Linked DNA regions of Homo sapiens: region 1 is linked to region 2. Evidence: promoter capture Hi-C in human tissues and cell types (Jung and others, 2019). All regions are on one chromosome and are shown on one strand. The core of a region is centred on a gene start or on the middle of the fragment in contact, and the rest is flanking DNA. Distances in the headings are between cores, read along the strand shown.

Region 1 (5,194 bases), core at 2,331-4,830, 1.0 Mb before region 2:
CCGTATCCACTCAAGAAATTCCAGCAAAATGCGAGCAGGCGAGAGTAATGCCAATCTGCTTTAAGTGAGTATATACATAAAACAGAAAATGATGCGCATGTTGGCACCTCAACAGTAGTTACAAATTATTTCTGACTCATCTCATAACTAATCAAGATGTCATTGTGCCTAGACACCACAACTGACATCTATCTGCCTTCAGAAAAGACCCAGAAGACCTTTCATAAACTGGCTATCTGTGACCATGTCCTGCCCCACCTCCTGGCACATGTTGACTTCATTCCCCAGGGCTACTCAAGTAGTAGTAACTCCCTCAAGTGTGTTTTCTCCTGCTTTGTGCCTTTATAATGCTCCCGATCTTGTCTTTAAAAGATGCATGTATTTCTTAAGTCTTAAGGCATCACCTCTACTGTGAAGCTTTCTGACTCCTCAAACACTATTCCTTCCTCTTTGCTCCACAGTACCCAGTACACACTCCAATTGTAACACTTATCACACTGTCCTTTTTATGTTTTTGCCTCCCTGCTAGACTCTGGGATCCTTGGGGATAAGGAGACTGTAGAGATGCTCAAATATGTCCTTTTACTTCTAGGTCCCTCCTTCAGACCTCCACTCAACTTGGTGTATGTGATGTCCCTGTGCCACTGACCGGTTGGCACTATCATCCAGTGTGCGTTCAAACCACTGGACAGATGCTGTCTGTAGCGGGTCCATGACAAGGGTCATCAGGTGGCGGGCAAGACTGCAGCAACGTTCTGAACGCATGGGATTCCGCTTATATGGCATCGCACTTGAGCCTGCCCATGTAAAAAAAGGACAAGATGCAAAGGCAGAGAGACTTCAGAGGATAGTGAGTAGGCAAGCATGCTGAATGAGCTCTCAGCCCCCATCCACAGCCTTCCAGCAGCAATGTGTGCTCACAGGTCTCTACACAGCACTCACCAATCTGCTGTTTTTCAAAGGGTTCCTCCATCTCCTTGAGGTTTGCCAGGAGGCGTATGTCGGTGCAAATCTGGGGGAGGTAGGGGAATAAGCATCACCCCACACTGTCAGTGTGCAGTAGAGTCTGGGAGCTGTGACTAGGCTGATGAAGGAGATGAGCTCTTAGGTGTGCTGTGGCTGAGCTGAAGACCAGCGCATCCTCCCAAAGAGCTCCTGCAGAGTATCTTACTCCGACTCCTCTCTGTTCCCGAAGGACTGGGATGACAAATTCAAGGAGCATGAAAACGCTTTTGTGAAACACTGCTTAAGGCATCATGGAAAGAAAATCACAAGATTAATTCAGGATGGGCGCGGTGGCTCACACCTGTAATCCCAGCATTTTGGGAGGCTGAGGTGGGTGGATCACCTGAGGTCAGGAGTTCGAGACCAGCCTGGCCAACATGGTGAAACCCTGCCTCTACTAAAATTAGCCAGACATTGTGGTGCATGCCTGTAATCCCAGCTACTTGGGAGGCTCGCTCGAACCCAGGAGGTGGAGGTTGCAGTGAGCCGAGATCATACCATTGCACTCCAGCCTGGGCAACAAGAGCGAAACTCCATCTCGAAAAAAAAAAAAGATTAATTTAATATACCACTGAACAAGATGGATGTTTTGCAGTGCTTGAGATAACTTTAAAGAAAATGCCAAAACGAGTCTTCCCCTTAAGGGTTTCATTTACAGACCACAAATTATTAAAACTAATGTAAAATATTGCTTGAGAGAGATGGTTAAGTAAAAGTCTGAGGTTAATTCAGTCTGTCTGTGGTGCCCAAAGCTCCTGTCCCCACCCCACATGCTGCCACCACTCACCTTGTGCACTGATGCCCCCAAGCTAGCCAGCACAGACAGTACTTCAATATCCACTTTTCGTGTATATGTCTGCCCTGTGATGATGAAAGCTCTAGGAATAAGTACAAGAGAGACTTAGGTTAAAATATTTTAAAGCCATTGCAGTGGTGCATGACTGTAGTCCCAGCTACTTAGGAGGCTAACGGAGGAGGACTGCTTTAACTCAGGAGGTTAAGGCCAGCCTAAGCATCACTGGGAGACTCTTATAAAATAATAATAATTCAAAACATGACTCTGTCAAACAAGGAAAAACACATCCTAAAGAAAAGCTTGGTCTTATTGGTATGCTAAGTTATACTCAACCAGTGGACCTGAGTGGTAACTTGCTCCTGGAATAAACTATTCTTCCACCCTTTTCACTAATACTCAGGACAATGGCCTGACTCAAGAAGGATACATGGTGCAACGTGCCCATGTCTGGCCACAGCCCAATAGAAATGCCTGGGAGAAGGAGCCATGGTGGAACCTGGTGGACCTCAATGGAAATGGTCAGATTTAGCCTAACCTGTTGGGGGCCCTAAGTAAAGAAACAAAAATGGTAACAACATGGATAAAGGTATTCTAAAGAAACCAGAAGTAAATCATTTTCTTTTTTCCTATAGATTATACAAAAAGAGAATGCAGGTCAGGCATGGTGGCTCATGCCTATAATCCTAGCACTTTGAGGCTGAGGCAGGTGGATCGCTTGATCTCAGGAGTTGGAGACCAGCCTGGGCAACATGGTCTCTACAAAACAATACAAAAATTATACAAAAACAATACAAAAATTAGCCAGGCATGCCTGTAGTCACAGGGGGCTTAGGTGGAAGGACTGCTTGAAACTGGGAGGCGGAGGCTGCCGTGAGCCGAGATCACACCGCTGCACTCCAGCCTGGGTGACAGAGTAAGACCCTGTCTCAAAAACAATAATAAAATAAAATGAAATCCAGAAAATATGTCAGCAAGACGATTAGGCGAAAAAAAAAAAAAAAAAAAAAGAATCCAGATAGTAAGAAAGTAAAACCCAGGATAGAGACAGGAAAAAAAAAAATGGGTAGAAGAACAAAGGAAGAAAAAGGCAAAAATTGTAAGGTCAAATCTGCAGGTATACTGAATATAGGACTTCCATCAACTTAACAGGGAGGCCAACACATTCCCATTTACCTACCTCTTAAATCCTGCCTTTTCTGTCACCATCTTGTCAAGCTGCTCTACCTTGGAAAGAAAAGACACATCCTTATAATAATCCATGTGTCCAGTGTGAGAATGCCTCAACCTGTCATCCTACCCAGGTCTCGCTCCCTAACCCCCACAACTTCCTTCTAGTCGAAAGACCCCACCCATCCCACAGTCAATCTCTCCTATCATCCTCAAAGGCAGCCTTGTCTCTTAGGCTCCACCATTGAGTTTCTGTGTCCTGCAGGTCACTTTCAGAATACCTTATGGTCATCTCCCTCAAAGAGCTGCAGGAAACTGGCCTGAGTGCCAGTGGTACCCTTTACTCCCCGGAAGCGCAGGTCATCTCGGACACGCTTCAAGTTCTGGAGATCCATGCAAAGATCCTGAATCCAAAGACAGCAACGTTTCCCAACTGTGGTCAGCTGTGCAGGCCTGAAAACCCAAAGAGAACACACGAAAGTCTCAGACCGAGACCTTAAATCATCAAGGTTTCATTGCTTCTTTTAATAACCACCATTACCCCTTGGAGGGAGAACAATTTAAGTAAGAGAGGGAGTAACTGGTAAAGATAAAACAAGAGATAAAATGTTTAACCAAATAATCGTTACGGAGATTCAATGTCATTTACAAATAGTCAAGGAGTATGAAACTAAAAGGCGATTAGCATAGTACTTTCTTCATCAAGAGGCAATTTTTAAATTATTATTATTTCTAGACTGGGTCTTGCTCTGTTGCCCAAGCTGAAGTGCAGTGGCATGAACATAGCTGACTGTAGCCTCGACCTCTGGAGCTCAAGTGATCCTTCTGCCTCAGCCTTCCATGTAGCTGGGACCACAGGCATGCAATACCATGCCTGGCTAATTTTTAAATTTTTTGTAGTGACGGGGTCTCACTTTGTTGCTCAGGCTGGTCTCAAACTCTATGTCTCAAGCGATCCACCTACTTCAGCCTTCCAAAGTGTTGGGATTACAGGCATGAACCACTGTGATGCACGGCAAGAGACAATTTATTATAAGGGCAGGGACAATGTCCCTTTTGTTCATGGCTATATCCACAGACATTGGTAAGAAATACATTAGATACTCGTGTAATATTTGCCAAGTATCTGATGTACTCTTACTATTGGAAATACAACAAGGAATAACACAGACAGGGTCCTTGTCCAGTGGCACTTGCTTACATTGTAAACGAGTAAAAAAAGAAAACAAAACAAGATTAGGCCAGGCGCGGTGGCTCATGCCTATAATCCCAGCACTTTGGGAGGCTGAGACGGGGGGATCACTTGAGGTCAGGAGTTCGAGACCAGCGTGGCCAACAGAGACAGGTAAAACCCTGTCTCTACTAAAAATACAAAAAATTAACTGGGCGTGGTGGCGGGTGTTTGTAATCCCAGCTACTTGGGAGGCTGAGGCAGGAGAATCACTCGAACCTGAGAGGCAGAGGTTGCAATGAGCCGAGACTGTGACACCGCACTGGGCGACACAGCCAGATTCTGTCTCAAAAAAACAAATGAAAAAAAAGAAACAAGATTAATTATTGAGATTTTAAGTGCTAAAAGAATAAAAGAACGATGAAGGTAATGGTGATGGCTGCTCTAGATTGGAAGTAGAGGAAAGCCTTTGTGAGGAGTCAAGATCCAGTGAGGAATAGTCATGCTATGGAGAACAGCTACACAACACACATAACCAGAGGACTCAAACACAGCAGCTAATGGCTTTGTTTCCAGCATTAAGCCTAAATCAAAGTAGGGTGCCATGGCTCATGCCTGTAATTCCAGCACTTTGGGAGGCCAAGGAGGGCGGATCACCTGAGATCGGGAGTTTGAGACCAGCCTGACCAACACAGAGAAACCCCGTCTCTACTAAAAATACAAAATTAGCCAGGCGTGGTGGTGCATGCCTGTAATCCTAGCTACTCGGGAAGCTGAGGCAGGAGAATCACTTGAACCCAGGAGGCGGAGGCTGCGGTGAGCCAAGATTGTGCCACTGCACTCCAGCCTGGATGACAAAAGCGAAACTCCATGTCAAAAAAAAAAAAAAAAAAAAAAAGCCCAAATCAAGCCACTGAAGGTCTGTTTCTGAACATAAAACATAATTACGAGGCCAGGTGCGGTGTCTCACGCTTGTAATCCCAGCACTTTGGGAGGCCGAGGCAGGTGGATCACTTGAAGCCAGGAGTTTGAGACCAGCCTGGCCAACATGGTAA
Region 2 (3,296 bases), core at 25-2,524:
TGAGGTCACAGCTGGCCTTGGGGTAGCCCCTGGGGTCCCTGACAGTCTAGCCCATTCCTAGTCTAAGCCCACAAGGAACGGGCCCCAGGCCTGCAGAGGCCAGAACCTCGAGTGGGAGTTTCTGGGATACAGCCAGCCAAACCCAGGGAGCCCCAGAAACCCCCTCTCCAGACCCCAGCAGGGCTTCTTTCCATGAGGTGCCACTCAAGGCACCTGAACCCCTCCCTCTGTGCTCACTGTCTCTGACCCATCCTCTCCCTGACCACCCGTCTGAACAAGAGCCCACTCAGCCCTCTGCACTGAGGACCCTGCCCCCCAGCTAGGCTGGAGGCCACCCTGGCCTCTTCACTGTGGGAGCAGACCTTTCTCCCAGACACCCGCCTTGGGCATCCAGGTGCATGCTGAGTGGGAGGGGTGTTACCGGTTCATGAAATGTCAGAGCCCAAGGGGGCCTCAAGAAGGCTCCGCCCACCTTGTCTATAAATTGGGAAACTGAGGCATGAGAGAGGAGATGACACTCCCCACCTCGGAATTGAAGTCCTCATTTCTCGAGAACATTTCCTGGGTGGCTCCCAGCCCAAGGTCACGCAGAGAAGGAGAGGCAGTTCCCGGGTGGAAGAGAGGTACTCAGTTCCCGACTCATCGCTCCACACGGGCCGGGCTAGGCAATACGAACCCGGTTCCCGGCCCTCTCCTCCTCCAACGTCCATCGCAGGCGCGGCATGCACCCCACCGAGATGGTCCACGCCCTGATCCACCCCCCAAAAAAGGCCACCTTAAACCCTGGCTCCGTCCCCACGGTCCCCAGTCCGCCCTGGCGGCCGCGCACAATCCGAGCCTTTCGCGGCATAGCCGCGGCCTGGAGGTCACAGCAATCGGGGCGGGAAGGGGGGCGCACGAACCGGGGGCCCCAGGAAACCAGGGCTCCGGGAGCCGGAGCGGCGTCTCCCGCGAGCACCAGGGATCCCGCCCGCCCCGGGCCCGGGAAGGAGGAGCGGCGGCAGCGGGCCCCGCAGGCAGGACAGCTCCTCGCCCGCCGCCGCGCCGCCGCCGGGGGCCCGTTGGGGTCGGGGTCGGGGTCGGTCCGGGCGCGCCGCCTTTGCTCACACCCCCACCACCCCGGCCTGGCAGAGCCGTCGGCCAGTCCGTCCTTACCCAAGACACGACGCGCAGGATGGTGTGCGGCTGCCGGACCAGGGTGTAGGGGTCGAAGGCGCCCCCGGCTTTGCCCGCTCCGTACGCACCCCCTTCCATCGTGGCTGCACCCGCGCGGTGCCCCCCGCTCGGCGCGCGCCGCCGGCCCGTGCGCGTGCGCGGCGCCCCCGCCCCCTCCCCTGCGCGCGCGGCCGGCGGCCCAGGGCTCCCGCGAGGGGGCGTCGTGCGCGGCGGGCGCAGCTCGCGGGGCGCGGGCGGGGGGCTGGGCAGCGCGCGACCTCGGGCGCGGGGGCGCGCGTGCTGCGGCCCGGGGCTCAGGGCGCGCTCGCAGCCAGTGCGGTGACCTCTTTGCAAAGTGTTTGGGGGAGGGCGGTGCGTGCACAGCAAGTGTGGGCCGTGTCCCTGCCCCGCATCCCCGGTCCCCTGCCCCGGTCGCAGCCCCTCTGAGCCGTCGGCTCTGCTGAAACCATCTTCACGCTTGATTTGTTTGGCTGTTTCCTGCCACTTTGTCGGCCCCAAATATAATGAGAGGGCAGGAGCTGTGTTCGTCCTTCTTAGAGGGTGCTTGGTACGCAGTAGGCGCCGCATGAATATTTCTCGAATGAATGAACCACGAGTGAATGACCCTCTCTTACAGCCCTCCAGAGCAGCCCCCACCTCCCAGGACCACCCTTCCCCTGCCTCTTACGATGACGTCATGTGTGTCCCTGTGCCCGCGCACCCTCCCACCCCCAGCCTGGAGGGGCCTGGCACAGAGGCGGCGGCTGAGACTTCCTCTTCCCCATCCCCTCCTACCCCAGAACGTTGCCCCTTTCCTGAATCTAGCAATTAATTACGCAATCATTTGTTCATGGCCTCTTCTGCTGCTAGTCTGTGAGCTCCCGAGGCCCAGGTGTTGTCTAACTTATTCAATGCCTTACCCAAGGGCCTAGCATACAGTAGGTGCTCAGTAAACAGAGCCTAGTCCCCATCACCCCATCACAGCTTGGGCTAGACCTCCAGGTTTCATGGAAACGGAGGCTAGATGGAGGAGTGCTCCCTGCAGGGGAAGGGCCACCTTCCAGGGCTGGCTCTCCTGCTGCCCTGTAGCTCTATGGCCTCTCTATGTCTGCAGTCACCTTCACTGGTTCCAGGAGCAGGTTGGATGAGGATATGGGTGGAGGCTTTTGCTTCTCTGGTATCCTGCCATTCTGTGATGACAGGACACAACATCTGTGTGGAGGAAATGTGTGCTGGGCCTGAGGGTGCTCCTTATAAAAATTACATAGTCAATGTCCATCTTAGGCTCAGCTGATTGTTTAGTCTCTACCAGGCCTTGTGCTAAGGGCTTTACATACATTTTCACATTTAATCCAGCACACTTATAAGGTGTCTACTATGACTATATAAAACTTTTAGAAGAAAGCACAAGAGAAGGCCGGGCGCAGTGGTTCACGCCTGTAATCCCAGCACCTTGGGAGGCCAAGGTGGATGGATCACAAGGTCAAGTGATTGAGACCATCCTGGCCAACATGGTGAACCCGGTCTCTACTAAAAATACAAAAATTAGCCGGGCGTGGTGGCGAGCTCCTGTAGTCCCAGCTACTTGGGAGGCTGAGGCAGGAGAATCACTTGAACCCAGGAGGTGGAGGTTGCAGTGAGCCGAGATCGCGCCACAGCACTCCAGCCTGGCAACAGAGCGAGACTCCGTCTCAAAAAAAAAAAAAAAAAAAAAAAATCATGAAGAACATGATTCATAAAAGAAACAATTGATAAACTGGACTTTATCAAAATTAAGAACTTCTGTTCTTTAAAAGACATTGTTAAAAGAATGTATGAAAAGACAAACGATAGTCTGGGAGAAAATATTTGCAAAGCATAGATCTAAAGAACTTGCATCCCAAATAAAGAACGTTCGAACTCAATAATAATAAGAGGACCCACTTTTTAAAAAATGGGCAAAAGATTTGAATAGTTATACACCTCACCAAAGAAGATATACACACGGCAACTCAGCACATAAAAAGATGCCCAGCATCCGCGGTGGCTCACGCCTATAATCCCAGCACTTTGGGAGGCCGAGACGGGCAGATCATGAGGTCAGGAGATTGAGACCATCCTGGCTAACACGGTGAAACCTCATCTCTAGTAAAAATACAAAA

What was found. The method cuts DNA at HindIII sites, captures the fragments that hold promoters and counts their contacts. A contact is called where the count stands out against the background at its distance.
Region 1: a contact is called between a fragment that was not itself captured here and the fragment with the promoter of SYNGR1 in region 2, in 1 of the 25 tissues and cell types used here (dorsolateral prefrontal cortex).

The regions. Positions count from the first base shown.
Region 1 is chr22:40,357,091-40,362,284 of GRCh38, reverse strand. It overlaps ADSL (adenylosuccinate lyase), which reads right to left. Exons shown (of 13, transcript NM_000026.4): 5 at 3,250-3,421; 6 at 2,979-3,025; 7 at 1,793-1,883; 8 at 943-1,012; 9 at 650-797. Among named protein-coding and RNA genes, the nearest start is that of SGSM3, 11 kb to the left of the region's middle. The HindIII fragment of the contact is 4,642 bases long and covers 1,260-5,194 here.
Region 2 is chr22:39,347,969-39,351,264 of GRCh38, reverse strand. It overlaps SYNGR1 (synaptogyrin 1), which reads right to left and starts at 1,274. Exons shown (of 4, transcript NM_004711.5): 1 at 1,156-1,274. The coding sequence starts at 1,254. RefSeq lists a silencer at 1,068-1,227. The HindIII fragment of the contact is 13,153 bases long and covers 1-3,296 here.